Regions from separate parts of the Homo sapiens genome. Here region 2 is linked to region 1. The links are contacts of gene promoters, found by promoter capture Hi-C in blood cells and fetal thymus (Javierre and others, 2016). All regions are on one chromosome and are shown on one strand. Each heading gives the region's core, a stretch centred on a gene start or on the middle of the fragment in contact. The rest is flanking DNA. Distances are from core to core; before and after follow the strand shown. Region 1 holds the start of TSPAN13 (tetraspanin 13). Region 2 overlaps AHR (aryl hydrocarbon receptor).

What was found. Contacts are between HindIII fragments. The CHiCAGO score rates a contact against its expected background, and 5 or more counts as called.
Region 2: a contact is called between a fragment that was not itself captured here and the fragment with the promoter of TSPAN13 in region 1, in 1 of 17 cell types (naive B cells). The highest score is 5.5, in naive B cells.

The regions. Positions count from the first base shown.
Region 1 is chr7:16,751,823-16,756,589 of GRCh38, forward strand. TSPAN13 (tetraspanin 13) reads left to right here and starts at 1,933. Exons shown (of 6, transcript NM_014399.4): 1 at 1,933-2,208. The coding sequence starts at 2,146. RefSeq lists a silencer at 4,522-4,767. The HindIII fragment of the contact is 13,671 bases long and covers 1-3,377 here.
Region 2 is chr7:17,311,019-17,316,218 of GRCh38, forward strand. All of the region lies in intron 2 of AHR (aryl hydrocarbon receptor), which reads left to right. Among named protein-coding and RNA genes, the nearest start is that of AHR, 15 kb to the left of the region's middle. The HindIII fragment of the contact is 534 bases long and covers 1,268-1,801 here.

The sequences.
Region 1 (4,767 bases), core at 683-3,182:
GGATTACAGGTGTGAGCCACCGCACCCAGCCGGTTTCCTTTAACTTTGTCCACACTTTTGAAAATAGTCCCTTTTTGAAATTCTTCTCAGTTATGCTATTTGAACGAGTCATCTCCTTTTTGCTGGGACCCTGACTGATAGGTGGTACTTCTCTGGGAAAACAAAGTGATTCAGCCTATAGGGAGATAGTGAAGATATTATGCAGAAGCCAAAGAGAGAGTTGCAATAGTTGGTTGAGTGATAGTTGAAGTGGTACTAATGTTGGTGACACCCAGGAATGGGAAGAGAATGAATAGATTTCCCTGCCAATGCCTCATCTTTTGTAAACCTCTGGCTATTAAAAAGGAAAGTTGAGCATCATCAAAGCATTGTTTGTGTTTGAGGATCATTTTCCAGGTTAGTTTTTGAAATATTTCTAGCTGTATATAAAAGGTTAATGTGGAATAGAAAGCCTAACAAATTAATGAGGTCTTGTTGGTATGGTGGGGTCAGGGGAGGGAAGGAGAGGCTGGAAGAGGGAGCAGAGAATTCTAAGAAGACGAATTATTTTAATCAGCTGCAATGTTTAATTTAATTTAATACAATTTAGCATTTGCAATTACATAATTTACTCCGTATGAACCTTTAGGTTAGATATAGTATTGTAAACTTGCAAATCTCTTTATAAAACCTTTTTCTTTGGTAGAAACTACTATGAAGTAAATAAACCTTTATTGCCTTCGCTTAGTGCCTGGAACACAGTAGGCCTTTACAAAATGTCAGATCTATGAATACTAGCTGACATTTATTGAGGCCTTCCCCTGTGCCAGCCACTATGCAAAAAGTGCTTGACATACTTCTAAAATCTCAATTTATAGGTGAGGAATTAAGGATACAAGATGCATTTCTATAGTAGAGAAGCAGTAAACTGATAATGAATTAATTGAGGTGAAGTCTGAGTTATTTGAAGATTTTCAGTTATTTTTGTGAAAAAATAAGTTTATTGAAATTCACGACCAGAACACAAAAATAATCTCTCTTGATTTTCTTTTTAAAATTTTTTAAAAAACTTTTGTTGACACGTAGCAGATGTATATATTTACGGGGTACATGAGATGTTTTGATACAGGCATGCAATGTGAAATAAGCACATCACGGAGAATAGGGTATCCATCCTCTGAAACATTTATCCTTTGAGTTACAAACAATCCAATTACATTCTTTAAGTTATTTTAAAATACACAATTAAGTTCTTATTAACGATTGTCACTTTATTGTGCTATCAAATAGTAGGTCTTATTCATTCTTTCTATTTTTTTGGACCTATTAACCATCCCCACCTTCTCCCGCTCTTGATTTTCCTTTGCATGCATGTATTCATAAAGTTTATTAGTATTTTGCAAATCTTTGTAGGATAAGTCTGACCTGTCCAGGTCACAATTATAGGGCACATATCTTATTTTCTGAGAGAAGCAGGGATTTTATTTTATTTTTTATTGTTTCACTTATTTTCTCCCTTTCATTTGCCTCTACTTCGTTCTCTTTTAAATCTTTCACATGTTTTCATTCATTACTTGCTTCCTGCCTTCCTTCCCTCAAACAAGGCCAGGTGCTTAGTTTTGAAATCTCATTCAAAATGGTGCCACGTCATCTGCCAGGGCCAAGAATCCAGAGGTGCTGTCATATTTCTCCTTGCCAGCGTGGATCTCCTCCGAGCCCCGCCCTCCCTCCTCACCTGCTCCTGGGGAAACTACACCAAGGCCGCCGCTCTGGCCTGGGGCTCCCTCCCACACGGCCTTGGCCCTCTCCCCCTCGCCCCGGGACCGCTCCGCCCCTCCCGGATCCCGGTCGGCGGAGCGCATTTATTTGCATATTTCTACCTTTGTTCCCTGCCAGCGGCCAATCAGCGCGCGGGGCGAGACGAAGGGGCTGGGCGGGGCTCGGGCTCCTGCTCCGGCTCAGCTGCGGCGGCCGCAGGTTCCAAAGCGGGTCCGAGCCGCCGCCGCGCGCGCGCCGCGCACTGCAGCCCCAGGCCCCGGCCCCCCACCCACGTCTGCGTTGCTGCCCCGCCTGGGCCAGGCCCCAAAGGCAAGGACAAAGCAGCTGTCAGGGAACCTCCGCCGGAGTCGAATTTACGTGCAGCTGCCGGCAACCACAGGTTCCAAGATGGTTTGCGGGGGCTTCGCGTGTTCCAAGAACTGCCTGTGCGCCCTCAACCTGCTTTACACCGTGAGTATCCCCAGTCCGTTCCTGCTCGCTTGGGGGCTTTGCACCTGCTTGGGAGCTCTTTGGCTTCCCTGCCTGGTCAGCGACTCACTCGTTGCATCCCGCGCCCCCTTCCCGGCTTCCCACGTCTGCGCGCCCCCGGCCTCACCATCCGTCCCCGCCGGGGACCGGGCGCCGGCGCTTGTCGCAGTCTCTTCCTTTCGTTCATTGTGAAGCCGCGGTCTCTCAGGCTCGCTGGCCGCGTCTCTGCCACATTGCTCCACCCCGCCCCCTCACCCACCGCCTTGTTTTTCAAACATTCAACCGGACCTCTCCGCTTTCCCACCCCGTACCCTTCTGCCGCTCGCTCCTGACATCCAGACGCATCTGGGCCAGGCGTGGAGGCGCGAGAGCCGTCAGGGCTTGCGGACAGTTTTGCGGAATGGCGTGGCCTGAAACTGACGAGGCGGCATATGGCTGGTGTGCCTCTGGGTTAGCTCTTGGTACCCTCGGGATTTTAATTGAGGCCACTGAGTAGGTTCACAGGATGTCCGCTGCTTCCGAAGTTTGTTTCGTGCTCACAGTAAAGGGATGTCTTTTTGTTTTTGTTGTTGTCAGTTTTGCTAGTACTTGGTGCTTTTTCTGTGTGTCTTGTCCATGATCAATATCCTAACTCCATTTTAAACCAAGTCCTCCAGGAAATAAGCGAGCCCCCACCCAAGTCGTTTCTTTCCCTGCCAACCAGCTTGGGCCTCTTAGTTTTAACGCTGCAGGCTCTCTTTGTGATTTTTTGAGGCGCAATTCTGGGTGAACAGGAGGATGGGCAGGACAGATCGACATTTATTGAATGCCTATCACGTCCCAGGTTTTACATACACAATGCTCGTTCATCATTCTGACAACCTTCTGAGGGAATGGGGCATTATCTGCATTTTATACATAAGGTAACAGACCAAAAAGGTTTTAGTAAGTTTACATAGCTGGTAGTTGACGAGTCAGGAGTGGAACCTAGGCTGTGGAATCCAGATCTTTCCACAGGCTGTCTCTACCGGGCGGAAGAAACTTCCTCTTCTGTCATCATCCCTCCATAGTAGTCTTGCTCCCTTCTATAAATATACCTGGCGCTTTGCAGCACCCACCCTGAAAACAAACCCAGCACCCCTGCATTAGCAGAGAGCTAGGCCATCTGTGCAAGCTTAGATTACCTCCTTGGAATAGAGAGGCTGCCTTGTGGTCACCAACAGGAGAAGGAGGTTGGGTCATTTTACCTTTACTGTTCCTTTGTATGTGAACATGACTGCAAGCTTTGAAGGCAAGACAGAAACAGGCATTGAGTACGCTTTTATGGCTAGTTAGTAAGAATCTGGTCAACATGGTCATTAATAGTAGACTTGGGAAAAAAATTTTAGAACACCTGGTGATACAGTTCCTTGGAGATACATGTCAAGTTTCAGATCAAAATTCATCTGTATCACCCTGAGGTATGCTTATCACCCTGGCTGTTTATTAAGTAAATGCTGACCAGTTCTCTAGGGTTTTTTTTTTTTTTTTTAAATCAGTGTGAGTGGCCTGCTTGGAACTTTAAATTCCTTATTTTGTGACCTGAGTTCTGTTTTTTTTCTGCCAATGATTTAGTCATCTGTTTGCCAGACACTTAGTCTTACAGTGCCTGCTTACACAGAGTGGAATGTCTACTTTGCATACTTACTTCACTGAAGGGTCTATATCAATGTATAATCTTTTTTAAAAAGGCAAGTTATTTTAAAATGAAGTTCCTTGCTTTCTAGACATCATTTTTAGTTGTATTTAGAGTATATCAGGAAAGTGAGGCGAAAGAAAGGTGATTCTAAAGGGACATATTAAGACTATTTAATATCTATTCTAAATTATTGACCTTCAAAGTGTGTGTTCTATTGATTTTAATAGCTATGCAGTAAAACTTAATGAATTGGAAATTCACGGGACAATAAAAATGGCTAGCCCTTTTAAATCATAGACTTTTTAGACAAAGGGACATTTCTTAAAATGAATTAGTGGCTGCTTGCTTCTTTTACATTGTAAATAGGCTTAAATAACTGCAGCAGTTTAAAGTGGAGGCAAGTGACAGGTAAAAGTTGGATCAAGTCTTAGATAGATGCTGAAAATGTGCCATGGCCATTATTTAGCTTCTATTTCTCCCCTGATCTCTTTCTCAACATTTTAAGATGAAAAAAATGTGAGGCAGTTGGGGATGGGATTGAGCATGAAGACTTGGGAGACATTTCTCTATAAGTCATGAATAGAAACATTCTTTGTAGGTTCTAATCCCACCCTGGTCACTGCCTCTAAAATGTGCTCAACGCTACAGGATTACATTTGAGGTCATTTCTAAAAGTGTTGGTTAAACCAGGATTGCATATGGGAACGGCAGATGCCTGAAACATCATCATTGCTGTGTTGAAGCATTTTACTGAGGAACTTAGGACTGTATCAGCTGAACTGTCCACATGCTCTGGTGGCTTGCTGATGAGCCTGAGATTCGTGCCACATTCATGATCAGCTCAGAAAGCATGTCACTAAAAACAAGTTGGAAGTCCCAAACAA
Region 2 (5,200 bases), core at 285-2,784, 560 kb after region 1:
GCAGTAAAGGTTGGGGTTTTGAGCTAGGCAGCTGGATGATATTTGTTACCTTTAAATTGCAATGGAAGTTTTTGTTTGCAAATGATGTTTCAGTGTATTTTCTCATGTAAAATTAATTTTTGATTTATCTTTTATCTGTCTATAAGGCAGAAATAGATTTTTTAAGGAAATGGTCTTTTTAAAATATCATATAATTTTACTAACCATAGCAAGTTAATGATAAAATCTCAGTGGGCTATGTCAGTCAATGCTTCTCATACATTAATGTGCTTACAAATCACATAGGGATCTTGTTAAGATGCAGATTCTTGTTCAGTAGCTTTAGGTGTGTCCCTAGATTTTGCATGTCTAACAAGCTCCGAGATGATGCTGATCCTGCTGGTCTAGGTCACTAGGAAGTGCCTAGACAACACGTTTATGGATATTTGACTGGTAATTTGTGTTTAGAATATTGCAACAGTTAATTTCCCTTTAGATTTATGTTTACATAATCTGATGTGTTTCGTCTGAGCATCTTTTTATTGATTTGCTTGCTTGCTCTCCCGTCTTTCTTTTGGACAAAAGCTATTTAGTTTAACAGTTGTGGTCTGGGCAATATACAGATTTGAGGATAGTGATTTCAGGAAAGATTATATATTTCAAAGTTTCATAGTACACAAATTTTCTCTGACCTATATAAAAAGTGTTTGAATTTTCAGTTGCCTCTATACCAAACCCTTCATCTTGGGAGAAGAGTTACGCAGTATTCAGTGATGGTCTGTAAGTATGTGTGTATTAGCTATAGTCATTTAGCTGACATAGTTGGAACTAGAACTCAGGTTTCTAGATTCCTTATATTGTTTTTCCTGACCAAATAATACCTACTTTTTTCTGGGAACCTTCGCATAGGAAAGCACTGAGGATTTTTTCCTAGACCTGTGGTTCTTAAAAGTGTAGTATCCAGACAGGCAGCATCAGCATCACCTGGGAACTTGCTAGAAATGCAAATTATTGGGTCCAACCCTAGACCTGTGGAATCTAAGGTGGTGGGACCTTTGGTGATAGGGCTAGATGCATATTGAAGTTTAGGAGCCACTGCTGTAGATTGTAACTTCAGGCCTCCTCCCAGCGTCACGGAATGCTGTCCTGATCCCTAGCATTTACTCACATGCTGTGCTTAGTGCTTGACCATGTGGTGGCAGATTCTGTGATGTGTAAGACGTGGTTGCCACCCTTAGAGATTCTGGAGTCTAGAAGCCAAGGAGGCATTATTCTCTGACTCTGATAAAGCTTTATTGACTTGAGTCATTTTACCTTTCCATTTCTTGTTCCTTTGTAATGGGGAATCAAATTATATATGTTAAAAAGAAAAAAAAAGTATAGGTTTTTCCTCTGTTTAGAAGTAGTACATATGTGTGTATCTAGACAGATACATATAAATGTGTGTGAAACACACATATATAAACAGATATATTTCTATATTTAATGTCTACATTATGTGTGTATGTGTGTTCATGTATGTATACACACAGACACATACATGATTAGATAAGTGTCCTATTATTCAGTGCTTCAAGTAAAGGAGATCTCACAGTCTATCTTATAAAGCATGTCATAGTTTAACACAGGGTTCATCACGGAATTGTTAAAAACTTTTTTCTCAGCTCTTCATTAATGAGTTTGTCTGTTTTTTATTCTGGTTCAGTGTATTTGACAGTAGGATCTTATTACCTATTTGCATGATTCCTTCATCAACTACATTATCATTATCTTTAACGTTAGATTCTTTTCAAACTGCATTGTGCATAAGAATTACCTAGAAAGCTTTTTAAAATGCAAATTTGGAGGCATGCCCCTGCTGATAACAAGGAAGTTCTGTGTAAAACCCAAGAATCAGTATTTTAACAAGCATGTTACGGAGTCTGAGGCAGTGATTTAGCCTAGCCTTGATTATGCCCTGAACAAGTTAATTTTTGTTTCTTTGCCTTCAGAATGACAAATGCAAACATACAAAATTTAAAGAAGTCTATGAATATTTTTGCTTGTGTTATAGTGGTGTACATTCAGCCTAAGCAGTTTCTTAGATTGTTTGATACAGAAACATACAGTTAGATGGAAAATGAAAATAATAAGGTTTTTTTTTTAATCCCCAAATTTCCTCCAGACTACCAGTGGTCTGGAAAGGCAATGCAACATTTCAGAGCACACAGAGAATGAAATTATAAGGGTGACCCTTATGAACTGAAAAAATGGTAGATGCAAACGAAGAGATTTGAAACATGCTAACAATGATTAGGATTTTTGTGTGCAGTTGGACCCACTCTTCCACTATTAGGGAAACAGTATAGCGAAGCGAAGGGAAGCTCAAAGTGAATAACAGGATGCAAACAGGGGGTGTGTAAATTCCTGCGGAAAGAACAATATAAACGAGTAATCATACAATCTTGTTAGAAAGGAAACTCAAGTTTTACTGTAACAATAGATATTTTTCCAAGAAAATACATCTATTTATTGCAAGTTTAAATAATCCAACTTGGATGGATCTTCTTAAAGTTTGGAACCATGACTATACTGCTGCTGCTGTCTGAAAAGCAACACTATAAAGTTTTAAGTACTACATTAATATTTATCCATTTCTAATTAATTAAAACATATTGAAATATAACTTTAAAATACTTGAACAAGGCTTAGCAATTTTTCAGTTATAAAGTCGAAAATAGTTTCTTTGACATGATTTAAGCATTACATTTAAATATATTATCTCTGAGATGGAGGGTATTTTAAAAATTTAAATAACAATGGTTACAATCAATAATAGTTTATTAATAGAGACTAGGATTTGGGTGGTTACAATCTAATCTTTGAAACTGGTTGATGTGAAGAGAAAGGATTGTTTCCTCCTATATCATGTCTCTCAAAATTGTTAAACAGTGTACACTGGGCTTGTTGATCAATCTAATCAGCATTGTAATGTTTCATTCCTAATTTCAGCATATCTTTAATACAATTTTTAATGAGATTTCCTTACTATTTTTTGAAATGCCCATTATTATGTAAATATTTTGTTCAAATTATTCTGTTTTTATACAGCTGCCCCAAAATTGAGAATTCGGGAATGACTACTTTTGTTTTCTGTTTACATACAAACACCTAATGAGCCTGACAAAATGGAGCTTAGGGATCCGAGTTTCTGATTTCAAAGTCTTGCATTTGCAGCTGTCATAGGGAATAGTAGTATTCTAGTTATTTTTAAAACAAGGTAATGTTAGGGAAAATCTAAGTCTTGAATCATTATACATGCTTAAAATAATCACCATTTTATAAAATGTAGAATTATTTACATGTTAAAATATTTTCATTCATTAAGCCTAAAAATGCTGTGGGAAGAGAGGATAATAGTTATATTATGTGATGATCTAACATTTATTTGACCCCATTGTTTATCATGGATCTTTCTTGACTTTATTTTAAATTAAAAATTACAAGTGCTCTGTTCTTGGTCTTCCTTTTGCAGATGCTTTAACAGTTCATTCCCAGTTCATTAGGTTTTCCAAAGAGAGCTATTGTGTTTATTCATCTTCAGCTTGTGCATTTCTCTGAATTTCAGTTGTTTTGGTATCTCTCTAGATCAGAACATTATTCTTGAAAAACAAGTATACGTACATGTGTATATGCAAAGAACAAGCTTGAACAAGCAGTAAAAATGAAGTAATGCACTTCTAAGTGTTGATGTTTTATAAAATCTAATAGATTTGTATGTCTGCTTTTTCATTCATGAGAATTCTATAATTTCATCTGCTTTGTTGTAATTTTAAAATTTCTGTGTGTCAAGTAATTTACCAAAGTTTCAGTATGATAGTATCATAGCAAATGTTATTTCTTAATTCTAGGACTATCCAAAGTAGGTTTGTTTGCATAACAGTTTAGCACATTTGAAATCACCAAATAAAGTATTTGTTGAATTTGATTTACCCATGGCATTATCCATCTTAAATGGTGATTTAACTGTTATCTTTTTTCCTAATTCACATTTTAAAACATGAAACTCTAATTACAATATTCATGATAACTTTCATAGCTAAAACTATATAAACCTAGGTTCTTTTAAAATTTTAATTTATGGAACCCCTGCAGATTTAAACATGAATAAATACAAAGAATAGTAGCGCATTCTTATTGAATGAATATACAAATCCTGGCTCTCATATTTAATATTGTGACCTCTTTGGTTCAGGAATTTAATCTCTCTTTTCCTCAGATATCCCAATTTACAGTATAAGATTTATTAGATTATATGAATAAATTAATATGATAGAACTTTATATAGGATACTTTTATCTCTGCTTTTGTTTGCTTTGACAACTATTTTGAAGAACACAGTGACAAATATCTGAGATTCAAACAATCTAAACTCATTGTATCATATATTATGTATTTTGCTGCTTTCCTGTCTCTTTTAAATTTACTGATTTAATGGATTTCTCTTTGATCATTACCTAGTCTTGCATGGTTCTAGAATCCTTGCTTATTTGGCCATGAACAGGTCATTAGTCATCATTTTTTTTCTTTTTAGGGAGACTACCGTGGGCTAACATTAAAATCACCAACTTTCAGCAATTTTCCTTTTTTAGAAAATTTTCAAATACAGACATTTAAAAATCTGTAGTTAAGTCTTAAGATATTTCGTGAGGGTTTGTGATCTGGTTAATGGAAATGTACACCTTCATGTTATAGTGTTTTATAAAACATATTCATATATAATATTAATTATATTAAAATCTGAAGAAATTTTTATTTGGTAATATTTGTATATTATTTTTAAATCTTGCTCTTACAGCCTTTTGACTTTTCAATCAATGAATTTTAATGAGTAACTCAAATTCGTTTATTTGCTTATGGCTGGAGATTTAGATTTTAGAGTCATTTTATCGTCAGAATAACATTTTAAGCCATTAAAGTGAATAAAATATTCCAGGGGGAGAACATGTAGAATAAGAGGAAAAGTACCAAAGATAAGATGTTTTAAGGATGAGCAGGGGTAGTAAAAAGTGAAATCTGTGGAGTATGAAAGTATGCTAAGGTGATAGAGTTGACTTAAGATACTTTCATTTGATGTGTTCTTAAATTGGAGAGCCAGAGAGAAAACTGTACATGAAAGTGAAAACTGAAATGAAATGAAAGTGTAAACTGAAATGAAATGAAAGTGTAAACTGAAATGCAA